Regions from separate parts of the Homo sapiens genome. Here regions 1, 2, 3, 5, 6 and 7 are each linked to region 4. Evidence: promoter capture Hi-C in human tissues and cell types (Jung and others, 2019). All regions are on one chromosome and are shown on one strand. The core of a region is centred on a gene start or on the middle of the fragment in contact, and the rest is flanking DNA. Distances in the headings are between cores, read along the strand shown. Region 1 has its middle 280 kb from the start of PHLPP1. Region 2 overlaps PHLPP1 (PH domain and leucine rich repeat protein phosphatase 1). Region 3 overlaps SERPINB10 (serpin family B member 10). Region 4 holds the start of VPS4B (vacuolar protein sorting 4 homolog B). Region 5 has its middle 260 kb from the start of BCL2. Region 6 has its middle 20 kb from the start of SERPINB2. Region 7 has its middle 270 kb from the start of BCL2.

Evidence for each region. Contacts are between HindIII fragments. The study calls those that stand out against the background at their distance.
Region 1: a contact is called between a fragment that was not itself captured here and the fragment with the promoter of VPS4B in region 4, in 1 of the 25 tissues and cell types used here (lymphoblastoid cells).
Region 2: a contact is called between a fragment that was not itself captured here and the fragment with the promoter of VPS4B in region 4, in 1 of the 25 tissues and cell types used here (lymphoblastoid cells).
Region 3: a fragment that was not itself captured here is called in contact with the fragment with the promoter of VPS4B in region 4 in 1 of the 25 tissues and cell types used here (spleen).
Region 5: a contact is called between a fragment that was not itself captured here and the fragment with the promoter of VPS4B in region 4, in 2 of the 25 tissues and cell types used here (spleen and thymus).
Region 6: a contact is called between a fragment that was not itself captured here and the fragment with the promoter of VPS4B in region 4, in 1 of the 25 tissues and cell types used here (lymphoblastoid cells).
Region 7: a fragment that was not itself captured here is called in contact with the fragment with the promoter of VPS4B in region 4 in 6 of the 25 tissues and cell types used here (adrenal gland, dorsolateral prefrontal cortex, heart left ventricle and 3 more).

Annotation. Positions count from the first base shown.
Region 1 is chr18:62,990,189-62,993,847 of GRCh38, reverse strand. No RefSeq gene overlaps it. Among named protein-coding and RNA genes, the nearest start is that of PHLPP1, 280 kb to the right of the region's middle. The HindIII fragment of the contact is 4,858 bases long and covers 1-3,659 here.
Region 2 is chr18:62,972,904-62,976,155 of GRCh38, reverse strand. PHLPP1 (PH domain and leucine rich repeat protein phosphatase 1) reads right to left here. Exons shown (of 17, transcript NM_194449.4): 16 at 531-759. Among named protein-coding and RNA genes, the nearest start is that of PHLPP1, 260 kb to the right of the region's middle. The HindIII fragment of the contact is 3,739 bases long and covers 63-3,252 here.
Region 3 is chr18:63,918,209-63,921,789 of GRCh38, reverse strand. It overlaps SERPINB10 (serpin family B member 10), which reads right to left. Exons shown (of 8, transcript NM_005024.3): 5 at 1,885-2,002. Among named protein-coding and RNA genes, the nearest start is that of SERPINB10, 12 kb to the right of the region's middle. The HindIII fragment of the contact is 5,143 bases long and covers 1-3,581 here.
Region 4 is chr18:63,420,914-63,424,349 of GRCh38, reverse strand. It overlaps VPS4B (vacuolar protein sorting 4 homolog B), which reads left to right and starts at 1,874. Exons shown (of 11, transcript NM_004869.4): 1 at 1,874-2,117. The coding sequence starts at 2,091. RefSeq lists an enhancer at 1,707-2,006. The HindIII fragment of the contact is 11,812 bases long and covers 1-3,436 here.
Region 5 is chr18:63,062,401-63,065,770 of GRCh38, reverse strand. No RefSeq gene overlaps it. Among named protein-coding and RNA genes, the nearest start is that of BCL2, 260 kb to the left of the region's middle. RefSeq lists an enhancer at 261-555. The HindIII fragment of the contact is 4,298 bases long and covers 1-3,370 here.
Region 6 is chr18:63,866,285-63,869,886 of GRCh38, reverse strand. No RefSeq gene overlaps it. Among named protein-coding and RNA genes, the nearest start is that of SERPINB2, 20 kb to the left of the region's middle. RefSeq lists an enhancer at 1-736. The HindIII fragment of the contact is 4,452 bases long and covers 1-3,602 here.
Region 7 is chr18:63,044,779-63,048,062 of GRCh38, reverse strand. No RefSeq gene overlaps it. Among named protein-coding and RNA genes, the nearest start is that of BCL2, 270 kb to the left of the region's middle. The HindIII fragment of the contact is 4,462 bases long and covers 1-3,284 here.

The sequences.
Region 1 (3,659 bases), core at 1,072-3,571, 430 kb after region 4:
CTCCTTTTCCCTTCATTTCACTGGGACAGTGATGCCACAGTTCCGTCACTAGCAAAAGATCTAGACATACACACACACACACACACACACACACACACACACACACCCACCCCACTAAAGCCCTCTTTCTTTTCATTTTAAGCTAAATTTTGCCAAGTCACATCCATCTAGAATGAAAAGGTCCCAAACTACCCAAAGTGCTGGCTTCCTCAGCACTGAAGCAGACAGTTCTGTGCAGCGGAAGGCTACTCTCCTCTCCCTAAATTCATGCTCTGGGGGATGAACCTATGGGTGCCCATCCCTGCGGCTGTGCCCTGGGAAACAGTGGTGTCCTGGAAGCATGAATAACAAGACTGGAAACGACTCCACGTTCCTGCGTCCAAAGCTTCCCTTCACAAACAAAGATGCATGAGTCCAAGGGGGTTGTCCAAATTCCCACTGTTGGGGTCACAGTGACAAAGGCTGTCTCCTTTGACCAAACTTGAGTCAGGATGCCAAGTCCTCTTTCTGACAAATCCTTGACCTTGGCCCATTTAGTCCAGTTTTAGCAAGAATGCAGGCAGGCAGGTGTAGCAGCAAATGTTTCACCCTTGTTCTGACCACTCCTGATGTTTGATCAAATTCCTCCTCCCCACCCTGTAGGGCAGATGCACCTAACAGCAATAAGTCAAGCACACCCTGAGAATGACTCCATGGTCTTAAGGAATGTGTGTTCGAAGTTCTGAGCTAAGGAATCCAGGAGTGGCCGCCCGGAGATTCATCTGAAGGACGTCCAGACCCCTGGCCCATCCCTTGGAATGGCAGGCGGTACAGGGGATTGAGGCCCTTTGTTTTGGGTTAAATGAAGGTTGCTAGGTGGAGGTTGCCAGGTGGAGGTTGCCAGGTAGAGGTTCCTAAGTGAAAATGCCATATAACCCGCATGCTTCTTACACATGAGAGCCATCTTCCTGTCCAGCTTGGGGCTCCTGGACAGCTCTGTATGTGAGTCCCCAATAAACCCTACGTCTCCTTAGCTGGCTCCAGGTCTGTTCCTCAGCCTATTGGACATGGCACCATCCCTACTGGAGTTAACAGGGGTTCTGCACGACAACCCTCATTATTTTTACTTTAGGAGATAGGATCTTGCCTTGTAACCCATTGGGGAGTGCAGTGGCGTGATCATGGCTCACTACAGCCTCGACCTCCTGGGCTCAAGTACTGCGCCCAGCTTTATTTTGTGGGGGGCGCAGGAGAGTAGAGACGGGGTCTCACTTTTTTGCCCAGGCTGGTCTCAAATGCCTGGCCTCAAGTGATCCTCCTGCCTCAGCCTCACAAAGTACTGGGATTACAGGCGTGAGACCCCGTGCCGGCCCAGTCCTGACATCTTATCACCTGGCCTGCCTTCAGCAAGAATTCTGTCGTGTCGTTGGCCAGAATCCCCTGTTCTCCTGATGTTTCCTCTTAATTTTCCATCCGCTCACCTGCAGCCCGGCTCCTAGGCTAGAAATTCCCATTTCTCCTTGTATTCAGAGCATCGTGTTCACTAATGTCCCTTGGCCTTGGCCTCCATCTCACACACTCTTCCCCTGAATCACTGAGCTCCAGCCACGCCACCCTCCCCAGGGCGCCTGGGCGCGCCCAGTTTGCAGCCAGGAGGACCTCCCTGCATGGCCCCTGACCTCCCCGCCTGAGGGGAGGATGAACTGCGCACGCGCAGCCCGTCTTCCCTCCCTCGGGAGCCCGGGCTCCCTACAGGGGGCGCTCTCTGGCTGCGGGGGCAAGTCTGATTGAACCAGGCTCTCAGTCATTGGCTCACTTACCGGCGACACAGGGCACAGGCTCCATGGCCAGCCTTAAGACACACACGCAACCTTTTCGCCCTCTTCTGCATGTTTCTCTGCCCTGTTCTGCTCTTGGTCAGATGCCGGGGTGAGGAGAGAGGGACGCTCTTTTTTGCCCACTCCCCGAGAGCGTCCCGGCTCTTGCTTCCGCTCCGGGTCATTGCAGTTGCCTCTGCTTGAAATTCCTTCCCTTCCTCCAGATCCTAATCTGACTTCTTTTCGGCCAGGTCTTAGGTCAGATATCACTCTCGATCACTTACCCTCTTCTATTTCCTTCATATCTTTTTTTGCAATCTGAAATATAATAGTGTTAATTTTAAAAAGTGTATTTATTCCTGGTCCATCTTCTCCATCGGGAGGCGCTGCCTGAAGGCATTGGCCTTCTCTGACCTCCTTCCCACTAACCTCAGGGGCTGGAATGGTGTCTGGAATAGAGGAAGTGCTCAGTGGATCGGTTCTCCGTGCTGAAAGTAGGCGAACAGTCAAAATAAATACCCCACCCTTACCCATCTCCCCAGGAGAGACATTAGAGGGCTCCTGCTGGCTCAAAAGAAAAGGTGGATAAATGCTAACAATAGGGATGGGCCCCGAGGAAGCTAGGCCGCCCCTGCATGCACAGACCCTCCTGTGGGCATGCCCCACCAGGGCACAAGGGGCTGGCAGTGTTCTGGTGCGACGCTCTTCATTCAGTGTGGACTGGCAGCCCAGGAGCACCGGTCACCTGAGGACAGCCCCCAGGGCAAGACAGGGACCAAAACACACAGAAACAGACAATTCAAGGAACAAAACCAAAAACACCTATTCCAGTTTATATCCTCATAGAGGAAAAGACAGGATGCTAGGAAAAAGGAAAATTCAGAGAACTGTAAAAAGCACTTGGAAATTAAAATATGATAGAAGAGATTTTTTAAGAGATTTGGAGGATAAAATAAGGTTATCTCTCAGAAAGACAAAAGGGACATAAAGATAAGAAAACTTGAGGATTAGCCACAGTAGTCCAGTGTGAACTATAAAGATCTCAATAGGACAGGGGTTGATAAACTTTTTCTGTAAATGGCCAGATAGTAAATATTTCAGACATTGTGGGCCTTACAGCCTCTGTCCCAGCTACTCAATTCTGCCACTATAACACAAAAGCAGCTGTAGAGAACATGTAAATAATAAAGTTTTGTTGGAACACAACACGTAGTTGTGCAGATAAAGTTTTACTGAAACACAATCATTGTATCAGTCTCAGACTCAACAGTGGAAGCAGGAAGCAATGCTGTGAAATTTTTGAAGGAAAAGAGTTCCAGCCAGAATTCTATGCTCAACCACACATCCATCAAGTGTTATGGAAAAACAAAGATATCTTCAGACAGGTAGGGGCTCATGAAACTGACTTCCTATGCATATTTTCTAAGGAAGTTACTGGAGATTTTTTCCTGGTAAAATGAAGGGGTACACCAAGAAAGAAGAAAATACAAACGCAGGGACAGGCGATCCAGTAAAGGAGATGAGCAAAGAAAATTCCCAGGAAGTGAAAAAGGAAGCACAAGGATGACAGCTTAGTAGCAATCCTGGGGATGAAAAGGCTAGACCGGACAGGGAGATAGAGGTGCCAGAGGGATGTCACTAACAAAAAGAGGAATAATCCATCCAGGCGTGGTAGTTCACGCCTGTAATCCCAGAACTTTGGGAGGCCAAGATGGGCGGATCACCTGGAGTCAGGAGCTCGAGACCAGTCTGGCCAACATGATGAAACCCCATCTCTACCAAAAATACAAAAATTAGCCGGGCATGGTGCCACGTGCCTATAATCCCAGCTACTCAGGAGGCTGAAGTACGAGAATCTCTTGA
Region 2 (3,252 bases), core at 683-3,182, 450 kb after region 4:
GCCCCCAGTTGAAAACTGCTTACTGTGTACTCAAATGGGACATGAGGTATGAACCAAAATAACAACTAGTACACTTACATAGACGTTCATAGTTTACAAGTCATACCAACCTTGTAAGATAGGACAGATGCATGATTATTCCCACTTTACAGATGAGAAAACTGAGGCTTAGAGAGGTTTAAAGGTCACAACCTACAAGTGGCAGAGCTAAGATATGAAAACTAGCAGTGTGATGTCAGGGGTAGAGCCCTCAACCACCAAAGCAGCCCTCTGCAGAGTGGCTGCAAACATGGAATGGGATCATGCCCATGAAGCACGCAGCACAGTGCCTGATGCAGAGAGGCAACCAACAAGCATATACATCATAATGTAAGACATCTGCTTTGTGATACTATGGATTTGGAATTCTAATGTCAAACCAACTTCAAAAGTGTTCTTTGAAGGCAAATGCTCCCTAGCTAGTTTCTGCTATGACCTGGTCTCCTCTCCTCTCCTCTCCACCATCCTGGGCAACACCCCTGTTTTCTCACCTCAGTGATAATGGCCTTGTGCTGTTTAATCCTCTTCAGCTCTTCTTCACAGCTCATGATGTAAGATCTGGACAGAGGCAGCGGCTTTCCATTTCGACAGAGAACTGTTTGGCACTTGCCCACATTAGCAGAGGTCAAGGTGAAGGATCCTCCTGGATCCACAGGGTCATGCTTGATATGACAAAGGACAGCGGCACCACCAAGCTTCTGCCCAGCAGTTCCAAGTTTCCTGGAATCCGAAGAGAGGGGGTGACACTCAAACACAGCCCATCAGTGCCAGTTCTGCAAATTCAACAGCAAGACCGCACCACTGGACAGGGCCAGGAAGGAGACAGCTGGGGATTCCACTCCGCCTCCTTCATCAAAGCACACACTGCTCTGCCTCTTTGATGAAAAGAGCCCCTGAATCTGACATCACACACATCCACACAGAGAGGCTCACAACTGGAAGACAGTATCACTGTACCATTAAAAGCCACAGGTGCTGCTCTGGAAGGCGGGTGCCCCTGGGCTGCTGTGTACAGCCTGCTACCCTCATCAACCACACTGCCCTATCAGCACACTCCAAAGACAGCAGGAAAATGACTTCTTTCTCCATCTGCTTCTCTAAATCCCCTCTGTCCCCAGGAAAGGAACATTGAAAAAACCATGTATGTAAGAGCAGGTATAAACACCCTACCCCACTGACAGGCACACTTTAGAAAAACCTGACAACCCTCTCCCCCTTATAAGGGTGTTTGCTGGTAGCAGCCTTGAAGTATTGGAGTGTTCATGTTCCTGCCCTATATAGTAAAGACTTTCTGGACCAGCACCATCTATTCTAGAAAACTCATAGAAAGGACATTCTAGTAATCAAATACCAAGTGCTTGTGATTTATCTTTTTAATCATGAGAATCCACAGACCTACCAAATACAGAAAGCACCTGCAAATTCTGAAAATCAAAAATCAAAAACCCCTCTTACAAAGCTACTTGTTCTGGCAGATTATCAAGGGAGAGAAATGGCAGAGACGGACAAAAGACCATTATTGCTCCCATGGCCTCATGAACAACTATGGCAAGCCCCACAAATGGTAACACTGCCCAGGCCCCTGCTGTTCCTGAGTGGTACAGGAGCAAGAAAGTTAAGAAAAACAGCCTCCCGTTTTACAAGGGCAGACCCTCAGGTACTGTCTGCTCCTATCACGTGTGTAAGGTAAGCAACTGGCAAGAAGAGCAATGGAAACCAGGGCTGCCTACTTGCATGCATTAGGAAATCCCGCACAAAGACCAGTTCCCCTAAGGACCAAAAGCTCACCACACAACCCGTACCCTCTTAACAGATAGGGAAAATAAGAGACATACAAAAGACCCTGGAGAAGGGCCTATAGTTTAGGTTCCTAAACTCCAACTTTCAGATATTTGGCTCTAGACCCTTCCAAGGCATCTCTACTTTCTCCCTTTCACAGGCACAGTGATTTGTAAAAAGTATAGCAAGTAATCCGAGACTGGGGTTCTCAGTTTTTAATTCTTACCCAGTGCTTGAGGGTGCATAAAAAGCAGACCTTTTGGGGGTTGTGAAGGGATGTGTTTGTGCTGTGGTCTGTATGCACATGTGTATGTGTGTGCATATGATACATGCTTGCTGTTTTTCTAGAACAAAAGGGTGGTAAAAACAGGAAAGCTGATGTGCCTGCTAGTTACAACATCCTTTGAAGGGAGTCTCACAACCTGAGGTCAGGTCCTGGCTGCACTACCTATTAGCCCGTAGGCACTGTGCTTCACCTCACTGTACATCACTTTCAGTAACATTACCCAGCTAACTGGTAACAATTTATGACACATAAGGTAATTTAGAACAATGACTGGTACATATTAAGGGCTTGCTGGATATTAGCCATTATTGTTCAGTTGCTAATTGTATATGCTCACTGAGAATCTGAAAGTCAGGGGTGAGTGTAGCAGCAAGAACCACCCCAGGCTTGCCTCCACCAAGCTCTCTGAGAGGAACCATTTGTGATGCAGGTATCACTGTAAAGGCTGCTCTGAACACTCCTCCCCAGACACCACTTCTACCCCTCTAACAAAGCTACTTGCTCTGGCAGAATATCAAGGGAGAGAAAGAGCAGATAAGGATAAAACACCATGACTGCTCTCATGACCTCAAATACCAGTACATTCATCACTCCTGGGTCCCACATGAGTGAGTCTGCAGCACAATACTTATAGACAGGCAATTCCATTATTACCTAGAAAGCCATGAAGGTGGTAAGAATAAACAATTCTCTGAATGAAGGAATCCTCATTCCTCTAAGAGTTACAAACAATATTCCACAATTTCTACAGCAACCTAAAGCTCTGCTGCTGGTGGCAACTCCAGGCTATGGCCTAGGATTCTGCCAGTAACACTGTCTTGAACATTTAATAAAGGAGAAAACAAAATATAAAGAATGATTTAACTCTTGGGCTAAAATCTGACCATCTTGATTTCACAAAGGTTTGCACTATCTCAAACCAGTGATAGTATTTCATAAGGGCCAAGAAACTAGGATAGAAACGGTCCATTTCAAAGAGAGGTCCCCACAACAGAAAGTCTAAAAAGCCCCTACAGCTCACATGATTTGGGAGGAGAAATGGCATTGCAAACAATCTGATGAAAATCTGCAATCAACACAGGCCAGTGAGGTCCAGTTCTCAGAGAAACTAATTCCTTGTCATTGTCTGAGCCTTCTACAAAGTTGTC
Region 3 (3,581 bases), core at 471-2,970, 500 kb before region 4:
GTTTAAGTGGAGAGACAAGCAAGGCTCCACAGTCATATTGGCCCTTATATGTCTGGTTAAGGGCTTTGTGTTGATCCCATAGGTCATGGGGCAGCATGAATCAGTTTTGAGTAGAGAAGTGACATGGCCTATCTGGTCTAATTTGTATTCTAGGCAGGTAATTTGGGTGGTAAATGGAGGTTAGATTTGAAGGGAACAAGATTAGAGGCAAATTATTGCATTTGTGCAGATAAAAGATAGCGAAGAAAGAAAGGCTGTGGAGGAAAGGAATTGAAAGGAAAAGTGAACTCTGAGAAACATTTAAGAGGAAGCAAAGGAAAGGGTAGAATTTAGAGTATGTCTCAGATTACTGTTCTGGGCAAGTGTGTGATTGGTGTACCCATTCACCAAGATGGAGAATACATGAGGAAGACAAGGTCTGGGAAAACCATTCTGAATGTGATTTCAGGTATGGTGAATTTGAAATGCATGGGACCCTTGGCAAATATGTCTAGCAGGTGTTTGTTATGAGCCCTGAAGTTCAGAGGAGAAGACAGCAAAACATTCCATGTGCTTAGACACAAAGCAAAGGCATCATCATTAATATTCATTAATGACAAATGATGAATTAATCTTCATTAAGTCATGAATGATTAATTAATCTTCATTAATGATGATGCCTTTGTATTTCTTCATAAGATATAATATAATATCAATTGAAATGTTGATTTAAAAGGCAGCATGGTGTGTAGAAATCAGTTCAGACTTTGGAACTAAGCTGACTTATATTCGAAATCCTATTGCTGAAGCTTTAAACTGTGTAATCATAGATAATTTCTCTAAAATCTCAGCTTCCTTATTTCTAAAATAAGGATAACAATAAAAGACTGTTAAATTGCCTGGGAGAATCCTTCTACTACTTCCTTTTAGAAATAAAACCCTGAAATTTAGGTGACAAATGGCAACCCAGCTGAAAACTCCATTTTGCAGGTCTTTCTTCTAGCAAGTATGGTGACTGGAATTGACTGGAATGTGGTTGGTCACTCTTGCCTGGAATTAGGGGCTTTTTGATCCTAAAACTAGGAAAGTCACAGGCAAACCAGAATGCACTGGTCACCCTAGCAGAAAGTGTGCTATGGACTAAGTTTAGACCAGTGGGAGATGAGTGGAATTAACATGTGAAACTTCCAGGGCATCCCCTTAAAGACAAATTAGCTTTTGCTGAAATTTCTTTTCCCCACTTCCTGCTGCTACTACAACTGGCTATTGTAAGAACCATCTTGCACCTAGAGATGGAAGCCATGTATTGAGGATGGCAGTGCTGAACACCAGCCTGGATCTCTGGATGGCCTTGGGAGGCAAAATGCTCTCTCTAAGCCAGGATGCCTAACTACCTTTGAACTATTATTTGAGAGAAAGACATACTTGTGTCTTATTAAGCCACTATATTTTGGGTCTCTTCTTTAGAGTAGTTTAATCCATACTCTAACTGATACTTGAACTTACTTTGAAAAGTATTTAAGATTCTATAGCACATTTAATGCCACATTTCTGTTATTAGTAGATATTTTTCCTTAAAAACCATGCATGTGGCAGTATTTTCAATTTCCTTTTTGCATTTTTCTGCTTTTTACCCTTGGGCTCTTCTTTGGAATTAGTGGGAGATGATAATTTTCTTGTCTATTTGGTAAAGTGATGGCCTGACTTACTTGTTTTAGATAAGACTTATTAGGAAGGCAGTGAATCTAAAAATTACGTACATGAATAGAAATAAATGTTCTGAATATTTACAATGTGTCCACACTTCTATTTAAGGAGTATACATACTTACATATGACACAAACTAAAATAAATACAAGGATGTTTGGGAAAAGCACGCTGCCAAACCCCTTGGTGAAAGCTTACCCTCGGTCTGTCTTTCAACCCAAGAGTTGATGTCCTTTCTGATTTGATCAGAAGCTTCCACAAAGTTAACAGGCTGAGGTTCTGCACCAAAATATGTTTTCATGTCTTCTAAATATTTCTGAAAGACATAGATAAAAATCCCCTTTTGTAGAGTTTGTTCAAAATTGAGAAATCAAATCTATTTAGATTATCAAAAGAACTAGGTAGGCGGGCAATTGCACACTCCCACACCATCACTCCATCCTCTCTTTCCTGACTCCCAGTTTTGGTCAAAAACTAAACACCTCACTCTTCAAACTTAGCAGGGCACTGGCTAGCTATGCAGAGCTCCAGCTGTGGAAGGAAGTACGGATGCCCACATTTTTGGGGCTTCCACATCCTCTTCCTTTCTATTTTTATCCATGCCTTGAAATGAGGCTAGAATGGAAAGGGACTACAAATAACAAGAGTGACCCCAGTGGCCAAGAGGTACTGGGCATTGTACTTGACTTTTTATGGTAGGTATGAAACCAAAGTGAGGCTTGTGATACTGGTAGCTTCCTTCTGTGGATTCTAAACAACAAGAATCTTGTGGAGGACCCTTGAAGAAAATGATATCCTGCCATGAAAATGGATTTCTAAGCAGAGTTGAATGTTATATTAGGCATTCTGAGGCAAAAAAAAAAAAAATGAGGCCTTCACCTCCTCCTGGTCCTCTGATGTTCACCCAGTGGCAGTCATCACATGTAGGCTATGACTGAGTTTGCTGTTATGGAGGCATCTGCCTTGGGAACACAATTTATTCTTCAAGACATTGTAGTATTCCTTCAATTTGCTTACTTTATGCAGGGCTTGTAGGAGAAAAAGTGATGAGTTAATTCTGTTGCCAGGAAGTGGCTTGAAGATTATGAAGTCTAAATTCTGTGGAATTTAAAATCTAATAAAAGGAAAACTTAAATATTTTTGAGGGACCACTGCCTGTCTTAATTCAGGGCTTGTGGACATATAAAAATATGTTTGTCTCTATCTCTGTGTCCCTCTTGTTTCTAAGTGCCCACTGAGTCAATCATGTCTCCTACTTCTGCATCAAACGAGAGTCCATGAGCCTACAAGAAAGGAAACTGTCTTTAAGATTCCATTTGGATGATTTTATGTCTTTAGTAATAACAAAGCTCAATTCCTGAACTCCCCAGAATTCACTAGATTTGAACAGAGATAGCATTGCTTGAAATCACAAGGTAGCTTTATTTTATCTTATTGCTATTCTTCTACCCTATCTAATTTCCTTGCTCTTTGCCCACTGGACACACGGGTCCTCCTGCCCAAAGAGATGTTGGACAATGAAGGAAATTATTGACCTGGGTTGTCATGTGACCCTCTTAACAGAGGACAGAGTCATCATGGTCTGCATTGGTGGGGTTTCAACCCTTAGTAAAGAGGAGAGGTTGATATTATTTCATGTTTCATGTTCCCAAAGTCTGTAAAGTCTTGATGTGAAAACTCCTCACTTCTCTCATCCCAAGGTCAGTTTTGCTCTCAAGTAGACAGTCTCCAGCCAAGTCTCCATATGTATTTGTAGGCCATTCTCAGGGGCTACCTCTTTATTCTAGACAGAAATATCTGATTCCTAGATCTGATTTGAGACCTGTTATTGGTTTCCTTTACCACTAGACACTCATTGGTTGGTCTAATTGATTGTTTGCAGGGAAGTACTGACC
Region 4 (3,436 bases), core at 625-3,124:
CCGAGTAGCTGGGATTACAGGAACGCACCACCATGCCCAGCTAATTTTTGTATTTTTAGTAGAGACAGGGTTTCACCATGTTGGCCAGGCGGGTCTTGAACTGCTGACCTCAGGTGATCGCCCGCCTTGGCCTCCCAAAGTGCTGGGATTACAGGCGTGACTCACCACACCCGGCCTAATTTTTGTATTTTTAGTAGAGATGGAGTTTCACCATGTTGGCCAGGCTGGTCTCGAACTCCTGACCTCAAGTGATCCACCCACCTCGGCCTCCCAAAGTGCTGGGATTACAGGCGTGAGTCACCACGCCCGGCCCATCTTTGCTTAAATTATAAACTCAGTTTCTCCCACAGTTAGTTCAGCCTATGCTCAGGAATGTACAAGGACAGCTTGGAGGTTAAAAGTAAGATGGAGTTGGTTAAGTTAGATCTCTTTCACTGTCTCAGTCATCATTTTGCGAAGGCAAATTCACAAGTGGGAAGAAAGGACGGGTAGATGCAGGGCAGAGAGAGGGCTCTGTGCTTCGAGCCTGGATGATACAGATTTGGCAATACTATTCTAAGGAGAGACCAGAGAAAGAAGTTTAGGGTAGAAGGTAATTAATTAGAGTATGTTGAATTTGTCTTGCAGAAAAACCCTGTGAAGGAAACCTCTGGGAGGCTGTTGTAAATGCTGGGCTGGGGATGGGGTGGGTCTAGAGATCCAGATTTGAAGCAATTTCTAGTCTATTGATAGCTGAAGCTCAAGAAGAGAGTTAGATGAGCAGAGGTGAAGAGAGAAGAGGACATCAGACTCTTGAGTAAATTCAGCTTAAGCTCAGGGAGGAGTAAGAAAGGGAGACAGTGAAGGAAGCAGATAAGGAATATTGGGAAGCTGGACAAACAAGAACTGGGTAGTTGACAATACCAATGAAGAGGGAAGAGGAGAGGACTTTAATTCTTTCGGAGATGCCAGATGAGAAAAAATTAAGAAATGAGTGAGAAAAAAATGATGGAGTGATTAAACATCTATGTTGCTTTCCTTTGAGAATGTTAACTATGAAAAGAAGAAAAGGGTGGTGGTGGCTGCAAACCATAGGAAGGCTGAGAAAGGGTTTTACTTTGGTTCTGCCTCTAATCCCTGACGCATTCAACCTCCTCAAGCCATTTGCTTGTAAACATAACTGGCATAAATAATATCTGATATGCCCATTTTACAGGACAAGTGCTTCCCTCTCAGACCACATACTCGAGGACAGCGGCCGTCCACGCCTTATTTACATTCATCTTCCCAACACAACAGTCATTTGGAAGATGCCGAGTGGCGTGGGAAGAACAAGCGGGAACGAGCGCCGACCCGCCCGCGGCCTGACTGCTAGCGCACCGCTGTGCGGCCGCCTCACCGCGCACTCCCTCCTGAATTATTCACCACCGAGACGAGGACGGTGATCGCCCCCATTCCACAGAGGACACGGAGTGAAGGCGCAGTCACAGGCCCAAAGCCCCCAGTCGGCGGGTCTTGGAAATGGACGACTTTTTCACTCAAAAGCTACGAGGCAACAAAGCATGTGGATGAGGAGGGAAGGGAGCCGGGGCCAATAATTCATCTCAAAGTAAAAGACGTCCCCGGGGGTGGGGAACAAACAAACAACAAAACCCGGCTCTGTGCTTCCGCGCTTGCGCTCTCCTAGGTCTGCCAGGCTGCCGCCCGCGCCTAGGCCAGAGTCTCAGTGCGCCTGCGCCGAGCCCGACTTCCGCCAGGGCTCGATTGGCTTCCAGGCTACTTCTCCCGGCCCAGGGAGGGCCTGCGCTGTGGCTAGAGAAGGGAGTCTGGTGACTGGGTGCGCGTGCTGATGACGAAATCGGAAGTGCCCGGAGCAGAGGCGGGACCAGAACCTAGAGGGCCTCGGGATTGCGGAAGTTTGGTGGGGAGGGTCGGAGCTCTGGTGGAGAGAGTGTTGTCTAAAACAAGTTCCGGAAGGGAGGCTGCCCTTCGCGGTCCGAGAACCACCGGCCTCCCCAGTTTGAGGGCTGTTACCCCGTGCGCGCTTCGACGTTGCTGCTGTTGGCTCTCCTCGCCCCTCGTTCCCTTGGGAACCGCCTGGGAACTCCGCCATGTCATCCACTTCGCCCAACCTCCAGGTATCATTGCTCATCTCCCGTCCCCCTAGGGAGCTGGGATCGAGGGGAGGCGCGAGAAGCGGGTGGGGGGCGGGGAGAAGGGAGGAAGCGGCCGCGCCTGTGGTCGAGGCGCAGGAGGGCGGGTCCGGGGACCTGCAGCAGGTGGGAGAGGGGCCCGTTTTCCAACGGAAAGGTCGTTTCTGGCCCGCTCTTGGGGTCTCCCGAGCTACTGGCTTTGTGAGACTCTTCACTTTTGTTGACACTTCCCGCTTCCAAACCAGCCAAGATCTGGGCAGGTTTCTCCAATCAGGGTTAACGGAGAAAGAAAGAACGTAATTTTTGCAAAGCCCTATTCTGGACCAGTTGAAGATAGGGTGGTCATAGTTCGGTCTTAGTTTCTCAAGCTGACAGCAGACCCCTTCATTCTGAGCTGTCAGGTGAGTAGAGATATGGGAACAGACCAAGAATCTGAGATTACAGCCAGCCTGCATGCAATCTCCGTGAAGTCATTGAATTTATGTGCACACTCCTGTGGCTCCCAGATGGTAGTGTGTAAGATCGAGGAGTATTCTTAAACCTCTGTGTGGCTCCACTTCCCCTCCTCTACCGCAATGAGCACAGTGTTTTGTACACAAATCATGGAATCTTAAGATTTTAGGCTTAATCGTTAGTCCTCTGTGGAATGGAATTCGTTCAGAAAAGAAATTTCTTAATGTAATGGTGTCTCCCATCCCCAGAATGGATCTAGGGCTTCAGTGGCGTTTAGAATGTAATGTGGCTTAATGTAGAGGACTCCCAGTCCAGTAAGTCAATAAGGCACAAAAGAGTAGCCTAAAATACTTGTATTGAGTCCCCGTCGTGGACTTCCGGTAGTTTGTTGAACAAGCAGTTATTGGAGTGCCTGACAGAGGCATCAAAGGTAATGGAAGAACTCCTTAACCCATGATAATTGATTCTGAAGAAAGACCACTCAAAGTAGACCCACTTAAACAGAGATTAAAATTTCACACACACATACACAAAAAGAGTGGGAAAGGAGGCTTGCTTGGGACTTTCATCTTGAAAATCGACCTAGAAGATTATTAAAATAATTGTTATCTTTCACAAAATATTATAATTGTATAATTGCAACAATGACTCATTTTGTGGAATAAGTCAAGTGTTGATTTGTCTGTGTTTTTTTCCTTTTCTTTTCTTTCTTTTTTTTTTTTTTTTTGAGACGGAGTCTTGCACGGTCGCCCAGGCTTGAGTGCAGTGGCGTGATTTCAGCTCACTACAACCTCCACCTCCCAGGTTCAAGCGATTCTCTTGCCTCAGCCTCCTGAGTACCTGGGACTACA
Region 5 (3,370 bases), core at 640-3,139, 360 kb after region 4:
GTTGGGTTCTGCAAGAAGAGTCCTGACTAATATTTCACAACTTGGGCAGCCCAACACCCTCAGCCCTTCCCAATCTAGGGAGAGTTCTCTTCCTTTCCTCAGAACTTCTACTTCCATACCTTGTTCCCAGCACCAGCCTGTCAGGAAGCACAGAGCCAGGAAGGGCACTGCCTAAGATTGCTCACTTTTTCACCTGCCATGCTGCCTTCCTGCTTGGAATGGGTAAGGAAAAGTCACGGTGAGCACAAACACAAGATCTCAGCACAAACACGAGATCTCAGGACAAACACAGTATCTCAGCAGAAACACAAGATCTCAGCACAAACACGAGATCTCAGCACAAACACAAGATCTCAGCACAAACACGAGATCTCAGGACAAACACAAGATCTCAGGACAAACACGAGATCTCAGCACAAACACGAGATCTCAGGACAAACACGAGATCTCAGGACAAACACGAGATCTCAGCACAAACACGAGATCTCAGCACAAACACGAGATCTCAGTGCAGCCAGCTGCCACTGGACCTTCTCCTCTCCTGCTTTCTTAGAATTGATCAATTTTCTCCCATATCCATTTGCTCCCCTCTTCTTTTTTTTTTTTTTTGAGACTAGTTCTCGCTTTGTCGCCCAGGCTGGAGTGCAGTGGCACGACCTCAGCTCACTGCAACCTCTGCCTCTCAGGTTCAACCAATTCTCCTGCCTCAGCCTCTAGAGTAGCTGGGACTACAGGTGCACACCACCATGCCCGGCTAATTTTTGTATTTTTAGTAGAGATGGGGTTTCACGATGTTGGCTGGGCTGGTCTCGAACTCCTGGCGTCAAAGTGATCCACCTGCCTCAGCCTCCCAAAGCGCTGTAATTACAGGCATAAGCCACCATGCCCGGCCTCGATTGCTTTGTTTTTAAGCCAATTTAATGCATGGATCACTTACCTTGTGTAAGTCCAGTACGCCTGGAGTTATAAAACAGTCTCTCCCCTTGGAAGGCTCAGGTGTAATAAACAAGAATTTGAAACCAGGAGAGAGTGACTAAGGGAATGTGGATTCAGGGGGAAAAAAGCAGGAAAAAAGTCAACATTTCTAATTTGGAGAAACCGATGACACCACTGAGAGAGCCCCTCAGGGAAGAAGAGGGGGCTGGAGAATCCCTAAAGAGAAGCTTAGATAACACGGGGGAATCAGATGGCAGGATCTGCAGGCATAGGACTCTGAAGGAGACTTGAGAGTCCACTAAATTACAGAATGTTTTTGTTAAATAATGCCTGAGGGATGATCTGATCTGACATGGATAGCTCCTTTTATTTCTTTTAAGTAAAATTAAATCCAACTGTAAGCCCCAATTTCACCATTAACAAACGAGATAACAAAGTCAATAGTTCCCACAATATGCTTGGGTTAGGGACTCCTGCAACGCCCTTCCGGGTCTGCCACGCAGAGAAAACTCGGCTCTTATCTGCTTTATTAGTTGTAATTAGTCATATAATTTTTTAAAAAGCAAACATCTAAATAAGTTTGGACACCCAAGGATGAGATGATCTCGCATTTCCCTTGCAGTGCTAACATTTTTTCCTTCTCCTGAGCCCAATCTACTCCTCCACCCGCGTGACTTTGATTTGCAAATCACGTGTGTCACGCTCCCTCTCTGGGTTCCCTACCTGTTGTTGGTCACCAGGACTCAGAAACCAGATTTCTGACAAACTTGGATTTGTTAAATAGAGCTAAGTGCTACTGAGAAAAACAACGCAGGACAGGCCGGGGGCGGTGGCTCACACCCGTAATCTCAATACTTTGGGAGGCAGAGGCGGGAAGATGGCTCGAGCCTGGGGGTTCCAGACCAGCCTGGGGAACAGAGTAAGACCCTGTCTCTACAAAAAATAAACAAAACTAGCCAGGTGTGGAAGCGTGCGTCTATAGACCCAGCTACTTGGGAGGCTGAGGTGGGAGCCCAGGAGGTCAAGGCTGCAGTGATCCATGATTGCCACTGTACTCCAGCCTAGGCGACAGAGTGAAACCCGTCTCAAAAAAAAAAAAAAAAAAAAAAAAAAAAAAAAAAAAAAAAAAAAAAAAAAGAAAAAAAAAAGAAAAAGAAAAAAGAAACAAAAGAAAAGAGAGAAGAGAAAAGCAGGACATAGGAAGGGGCCTGCAGGGTGTGGGTGGTGGTTTTAATGAGGGTGGTCTGGGAGAAGCCTCAGTGAGAACGTGGTGCTGAAACAAAGATCTGGTGGAGGTAAGGATGCAAGACGTGGGGACAGCAAGAGGGAAGCTGTGCAGAGCGAGGCCACAGCAAGGACAAAGCCCCGGAGGGAAGAGCCTGGTGCTGCAGCAGAATGGGCAAGAGAAAGTGGTGGAGGTGGAGGTGGAGGCTCGGTGGAGTCCAGGTTATATAGATGGTGGGTCTGAAACTTGGAGATGTATCAGAATCCCCGCGATTCCCCTCTCCAGAGTTTCTGATTCAGTAGGTCTGGGGTGGGGCCAAGATGTTTGCATTCCTAAGGAATTCCTGGGTGCTGCTGTCGCTGCTGGTCCAAGCCCACGCTTTGAGAACTGCTGCTGTAGACAGATGCCTAGAACACTCTTCTCCCAGATGGCTGCACGAATCTCTCACGTTGCCTTTATGTTTTCATTCAAACATGACCTGTACAATGAGGGCTTCCCTGGCTACCTTACCCACCACAATTCCAAACTTCCTCCCCTACTAAACACACTCCATCCTCTGTCCCTACTTTTTTTTTTTTTAGACAGAGTCTCACTCTGTCACCCAGCTGGAGTGCAGCGGCATGATCTTGGCTCACTGCAACCTCCGCCTCTGAGGCTCAAGCGATTATCCTGTCTCAGCCTCCCGAGTAGCTGAGATGATAGGCATGCACCACCACGCCCAGCTAATTTTTGTATTTTTAGTAGAGACGGGGTTTCACCATGTTGGCCAGGCTGGTCTCGAACTCCTGGCCTCAAGTGATCTGCCTGCCTCAGCCTTCCAAAGTGCTGGGATTACAGGCGTGAGCCACCGCACCCGGCCAATCCTCTGTCCCTACCTTCACAGCACTTCTCACCTGGATGAGATTCCTGGAGTTGTTGTAACAAATGACCACAGACCAGGGAGCTTAAAGCCACAGAAATTTACTCACTTACAGTGCTGGAGGTCAGAGGTCCAAAATCAAGGTGCTGGCAGAACTGGTTCCTTCTGAAGACTTGGGGAGAAAGCTCCCATGCCGCTCTCCTAACTGCTGGTGGTCCCGGCACTGCTGGGTGACTCTGGGCTCATAGTTGCGTCACTCCCATCTCCACCTCCTCCTTCCCACGGCTGCCTTCCCTCTGTGCCTCCCTGAGTCCTCACATGGCCTTCTTGTCAAGATGCCAGTCATTGAA
Region 6 (3,602 bases), core at 915-3,414, 450 kb before region 4:
GCTCCCTTACCTCAAAACCACCCAAATGTATTTTCGGATCTCTAGGTGGAATAGAAGGTTCAGTAACAAATGTCCCCACTCCTCCTCCTTTAACCATAGGATCTGTGCTCAAGGCATCAACTGCTGGCCCCCCAACTCCTTCCCTTTGGCTTGCCCTCTACCTTCCGGGAAAGAGCAGCAGAGCGTCAATAATTGCCACATCAAAACAGAGCTGCTGACCCAGGACTCCTCTTTAATACTGTATCCTTCTAACCTTGGGGAAAGACCGGAAGCTCATTCCACACGCAAACCACATTTCCTGCCTATTTGTCATGACAGCACATCACGCGACTGCTGTGTCATGTGGCAAAATGGCAGTGCACGCATTCTTGCAACATTTTTGGAATGCAGGCCCAGCAAGTACACATGTAGGAAGCCTCATCATTCTAAGAACAATGCGTTTACACAGGGCATTTCGAAAAAAACATTTACAAAATCTTATTTTTTATGGTTTCCTCCAAATGATTGCAAAGTTTAAGAAGCAATGGAAGGGAAAGTGAATGTGCACTGTGGTGCATACGGACAATACAAAATAACAGAATTATAGATGCAGTTGATATTGGACACACACAAATATAAACTATAAAAAGGGAAAACAAAAGTTTTGCTCAAGTCGCAACTTCCAATCCCAAGGAGAGGTTTGAGGCATCTTATTTTGGCTTTCAAAGGAGTTAAATTAATGACAAAGTATGTTTGTCTAAAACTGTTTTCTATCCACTTGGGTGGCAAGGGAGTTTCTATTTTACACCTTGCGTTGCTGTCTGCCTCTGCTGATTCTGCAGTTTCCTTTTGTTTCCTAGTTTCTTGTAGCATTGGCCCATTCTAGTTCATTTCTGCTTATTGTTTCAGGCTTTATTTATTTATTTATTATTTATTTTGCTGGAGCCTGTCTCTGTCACCCAGGCTGGAGTGAGATGGTGCGATCTCATCTCACTGCAACCTCCGCCTCCCAGGTTCAAGCAATTCTCCTGCCTCAGACTCGTGAGCAGCTGGGACTACAGGTGCACTACAGCCCACAACAGCCCGGCTAATTTTTGTTTTTTTTTTTAGTAGAGACGGGGTTTCACCATGTTGGCTAGGCTGGTTTGAACTCCTGACCACAAGTGATCCGCCCGCTTTGGCATCCTAAAGGGCTGGGATTACAGGCGTGAGCCACCATACCCAGCCTGCTACAGGCTTTTATAATAGATTATGAAACCTTGTTGTGTAGAAGTGAAAACTAACGCTCTTCCTTGCTTCTAATATAACAAAGCACTTTGAGTATGGGAAAAAAATTGCATCTTGGGATCATTAATAACATGGTTATTACATCTGGCTATAGTTTCACTCTCAAATAATAAAAACCTCAAATAAACCTGGTCTCCCTAATTAGTCACATCCGAAGCTATGGCATGACCCTTATGAATACAACACAAGTACGTGAAAGTCATTGCTTTTTCCACTATCGATGGATTAATGTAAATTTGGAAATCTTGGTAATTTTGCACATAGTTTTCTTCTGAGGTTACCTGTTCTTTCCTTTTCTAAAGCTTTCTGTCTCTGGATCTTTCTTTGATATCTATTTCCCAAGAGATGAAGCTATCTGAGTTCTACTGCTAACCCCAACGGAAACATGCAGGTTACAATGCACCTTGTCTGGATAGTCCAGCAAACCAGAAATAATCGAAAAGCAATTCCAATCTTTGCTTCCATCTCTTGGAAGAAAGAGGGTTTCCAGTTGAGGCCTCCATGACACCACATCAAAAATCCCTTTGCAACTCTTTTCCAATTCTATCAACAACAGCCCTGTGCCTGGACCTTTGCCTCTCCCTCTTGCCTTTGCTCTTCGATGTCTCTCTCTGCTCCCTACTCTCACACGCCCTCTCAGACACCTAAACCCCTTGCTTTACAAAAATTCCTCAGGCCTCTTCCTTTTCCTCCTTTTTATTAGCTCTTAATTAGATCTGTTAACTTACCCTCTGGGTTATACACATTACTCAGTTTCTCCTGCCTAGAAACTAATCCATGAAGCAAGAAACCTCCCCCACATAATAGAAGCAAAGAGAATAGAGAGAGGCAGACCTGTGGTGGAGATTGTGAACACTAATTCATTAACTTAATTTAATGTGTTCATTTAACTTAATGAAAAGCCGTTCATAATTTTTAATTCAATTTAAAATGAAGATTTACATTATATTAATTAAAAAGTATTATGTTATTTTCATAAAACTCAAACATGAGCACAAACAGCTATGCAAAATATTTGCCTCTCCCAATTCCTTACCCCACCCAGTTACTCTCAGCTTGTTTCAACACATTTCTAGCTTTCTGACTCCCAGTTTCTGGTTTCATGTCCCAGGTTTAATGATTGCTTTTGAGACCCTTTGGCTATGACAATTCTAAAATTTCTCTTTCTGTTTCTTTTTTTCTCTTTTTGATAAAGACTTTTCCATCTAGCTTTTAGTTTGTCTTGCTTCTTTGTTTTGATGTTACCATTGCCTGGGATGAGAACTTCACAAAACCCCTCACCACATACACTTGCTTCCCTCACCCCAAATTTAAACAGATAGTGGTATACCTGTCTGACTTGTTCACTACACTATAATTCTACAGTGGAAGTTAAATCATGTTTCTCTCTGCTTTGAGCAATGTAAGTATTCTGCAGATGTTGGCTGAATTAAATGTAATGGAATTATCTTTCACAGTATGAAATTGACCTCCCCACCTACTCAATGCCATCCTCATCATTCTCCGCACCTTCGCTGTGAACTCTGCAGGATTCATTCCAGCTCTTCCTTCCTCCTCCCTCCCCTTCACAGCCCTCTTCTATCAATGCTGGGCTGAGGTAACCACCTACTTCGCACGCCCTTATTTTTGTACTTATATGTAGACAGTGTGTTTAATAGTGAAAAGAACACAAGCTTTGAGTCGATTCATAAAATCATAGTGATGAATAACATTCTACGTGCATAATGACAATTCTGAAATTGCACATTACTATATGCGTTCATGGTACTAAGCAATTTAGCTATATTATCTAATTTAATTTGTATGATAACCATATGTATTAGTACTATGATTGCCCCATTTCATAGAGGAGAAAAACAGAGCTTAAGGATAGTAGAGCACTTGCTCAAGGTTGCACAGCTAGTTAGTCAGGATGTCAAGGCCCCATTCTTATCAACTGTATCTTAACAAAATCCCAATCAACTTTTAACGTCTACTCCAACTTACCTGGATAACTTTGGACAATTTATTAAGCTCTCTCATATCTTTATATGTAAAATGGGCTTTAATATGATCTATCATTTAGTTTTTGTGTGAAATTAAATGCAATAATACATAAAGCATTTATTCATATTTAGTATTGGGCACATGGAAGTGGCTCCATAAATGCAGTCATATCCCTATTTTCCCCATCATCATCATAATTTATGACATTAATTAAACTTTTTTTTTTTATTATACTCTAAGTTTTAGGGTACATGTGCACATTGTGCAGGTTAGTTACATATGTATACATGTGCCATGCTGGTGCACTGCACCCACTAACGTGTCATCTAGCATTAGGTATATCTCCCAAT
Region 7 (3,284 bases), core at 719-3,218, 380 kb after region 4:
GTCACCTGAGTGTTTTTAAGCTTCAGCAACATATGAACAGTTTTAAATTTATTTTTTATTTTTGGATACAGGGTCTCGCTCTGTTGCCCAGGCTGGAGTGCTGTGGTGCCATCATGGCTCATGGTAGCTTTGAACTCCTCAGCTCAAGCAATCCTCCTGCCTCAGCCTCCTGAGTAGCTGGGACTACGGATGCATGCCACCACACCTGGCTAATTTTTAAAATTTTTTTAGAGATGGAGTCTTACTATGTTACCCAGGCTGCTCTTGAACTCCTGGGCTCAAGCAACCCTCCCGCCTCAGCCTCCAAAAGTCTGGAACTCCAGGTGTGAGCCACCACGCCTGGCCTGGACCCCTTTTCAGGGGAAAATATGTTGTGGACCCCCTTTATTGCCTTAAATTTTTTTCTATAGTAATGCTGCTTACAAATACAAAACTCCATATTTAATCCTTTATACTCATAGCTCTTATGCATTGATTTATAAAAACAAATTTACAAGTCAAAAACAAATCACAGGCTGGGCATGGTGGCTCACGCCTGTAATCCCAACACTTTGGGAGGCTGAGATGAGCCGATCACCTGAGGTCAGGAGTTCAACACCAGCATGGCCAACATGGTGAAACCCTCTCTGTACTAAAAATACAAAAATTAGCAGGGCATGGTGGTGGGCGCCTGTAATCCCAGCTACTCAGGAGGCTAAGGCAGGAGAATCTCTTGAACCTGGGAGGCAGAGGTTGCAGTGAGCCAAGATCATGCCACTGCACTGCAGCCTGGGCGACAGAGCAAGACTTCGTCTCAAAAAACAAACAAACAAACAAAACAAATCACAAAGCCAACAAAATTAAAATGTTACCTCACAGGACTGTTGATCTTGTTTGTTGAAGCTAAATTGCTGCTCTCTATGAAACAGCACTCATTGCTGTGGCAGCAGTTTTGTTGTTTTGTTTAATTTTGACATCCCTGTATTCTTGGGGGGCATCTAATGGCTCAGTGATTTCCTTGCCTCTTCTCTAACTAGTTGAAATCTTTGTGTTCAGTTGGCACAAGGTGGTGTCACAGTTTCGTCTGCCAAGATCTCTCCTTTTCAGACCCCACTCTTCTGGCAGTAGACCAGGACAATTATATGTTCCTTGGTGACAAAAAGATTGTAAATACAAATGCAGGTACCTCACTCCTGGGCAGGGATTTAGTTTTGGAGTGGTCACCAAATGATGCTGCATTCACTTCTATTAAGATCTTTAAAAATTAGCATCAAAAAATATGTATTGTACGGAACTCATGGCCCCCACCACATCCTCAGACTCTTGGAGCCCTGTAGATGCCAGTGTGGGACACACACTGCAATCTCAGCTGTTACCCACAACCTGAATGGGTGCAGCGCTTACCAGTTTAGACAGGTCTGAGAAGACATGGAGGAAAGAGAGGTCATGAAATGGAATTTTCCATCTAAGCCACTCTAAGCAGGCCAGAGGCAAATCATCTTTGAATTGCCCAGGATGCCTGGCAGAGTGCCTGGCATGTATGGTAAGTACTTTATAGTTTGTTTGTTAAAGTGATTTGTTTGTTTGTTTCTGAGATGGAGTCTCACTCTTGTTGCCAGGCTGGAATGCAATGGTGTGATCTCGGCTCACTGCCGCCTCCACATACCAGGTTCAAGCAATTCTCTTGCCTCAGTCTCCCAAAGTGGCTGGGATTGCAGGCATCCACCACCACGCCGGGTTAATTTTTGTTTTGTTTTTGAGACGGAGTTTTGCTCTTGTTGCCCAGGCTGGAGTGCAATGGCGCAATCTCGGTTCACCGCAACCTCCACCTTCTGGGTTCAAGCGATTCTCCTGCCTCAGCCTCTCGAGTAGCTGGAATTACAGGCATGCGCCACTACACCTGGCTAATTTTGTATTTTTAGTAGAAACAGGGTTTCTCCAGGTTGGTCAGGCTGGTCTTGAACTCCTGACCTCAGGTGATCCACCCGCCTCGGCCTCCCAAAGTGCTGGGATTACAGGCATGAGCCACCGTGCCCGGCCAATTTTTGTATTTTTAGTAGGGACGGGGTTTCACCATGTTGGCCAGGCTGGTCTCAAACTCCTGACCTCAGGTGATCCTACTGCCTCGGCCTCCCTAAGTGCTGTGATTACAGGCTGTTAAAGTGATTTAAATAGAAGACTCAAGTTATTAAGTCACCCAGGATGGGCCTCTGATGATTGGCTTTGTTTCTAAATATCCCAAAAATAATTTATCTGGGTTTATTACCATATTATATATAATCCTAAGCTCCTCCTATATATTTATATATAATATTATAACACATTATATATTATATATATATTTCATATATAATATATAGTACATTAAATATATTTAATATAGGTACATTAAAATTATATTAAATATATATTAATTATAGTGAAGTAAAAATATTATATACTATACATGAGTTATAAATAATACATGTGTTATATAATATATAAAATTATATTATAACTCATAGATCATATGACATATATTATAGAGGCTGGGGTGGGGTGAGGCTCTGGTAGACTCATCTCGAAGCCACTGTGGTTTGGCAAGTGCACTTCCATTGTGTGTCTCCGGAGAGCATATCTGAAGGGGGCCATTGGAGGCTGGGGCCACTATTGCTAAGCGCCGGTGGGAATTTAAATCATTGGATGTGTTGTTCATTATTCCCAGTCCTGTCTGAGTCTGCCATGGAGAAAGGTGTTCTCAGCATTGACTCCCCAGCCTTTCTCCAACCTTACCCCAAGCTTTTGAATAATACATGTTTTCCTTGTCCGCAGATGATTTTCTCTTAAAAACATACGATGCCATCTAATCCCAAATGAGGGGCTAAATAGAACCCACACTTTTAAAAATAAAGTCATGTCTTTCCTATAATTTTTTAGCACTTAGTATATTTTGAGACTGTAACATTCTGGCACTCTTAGTTTTCTTCCAGAGACGTTATCAAGTTCTAAGTCATGTCGCTAAGTCAGCAACAAGCTTTCTTCCGTGCCTGATAGTCTAAGAACTCAACACACAGGCTTTAAAACTACATTACCTTGGTTTAAATCTCACTCTTGCAACTTATTTGTTCTCTGACTTGGGAAGGCCACTTAACATTTCTGAGCCTTAGTTTTCTCATTTCAAAAATGGTTGTTGAAAGGACTAGGGGAAATAATACTGATCAGGTTTTTAATCACCATGCCTGGCATCGCAAAGAGCTCAATAAATAATAGCTGTTTTTCTGTCATTGCCTCCTAAAATATATAAATTCACATATGATTTTGGGAAT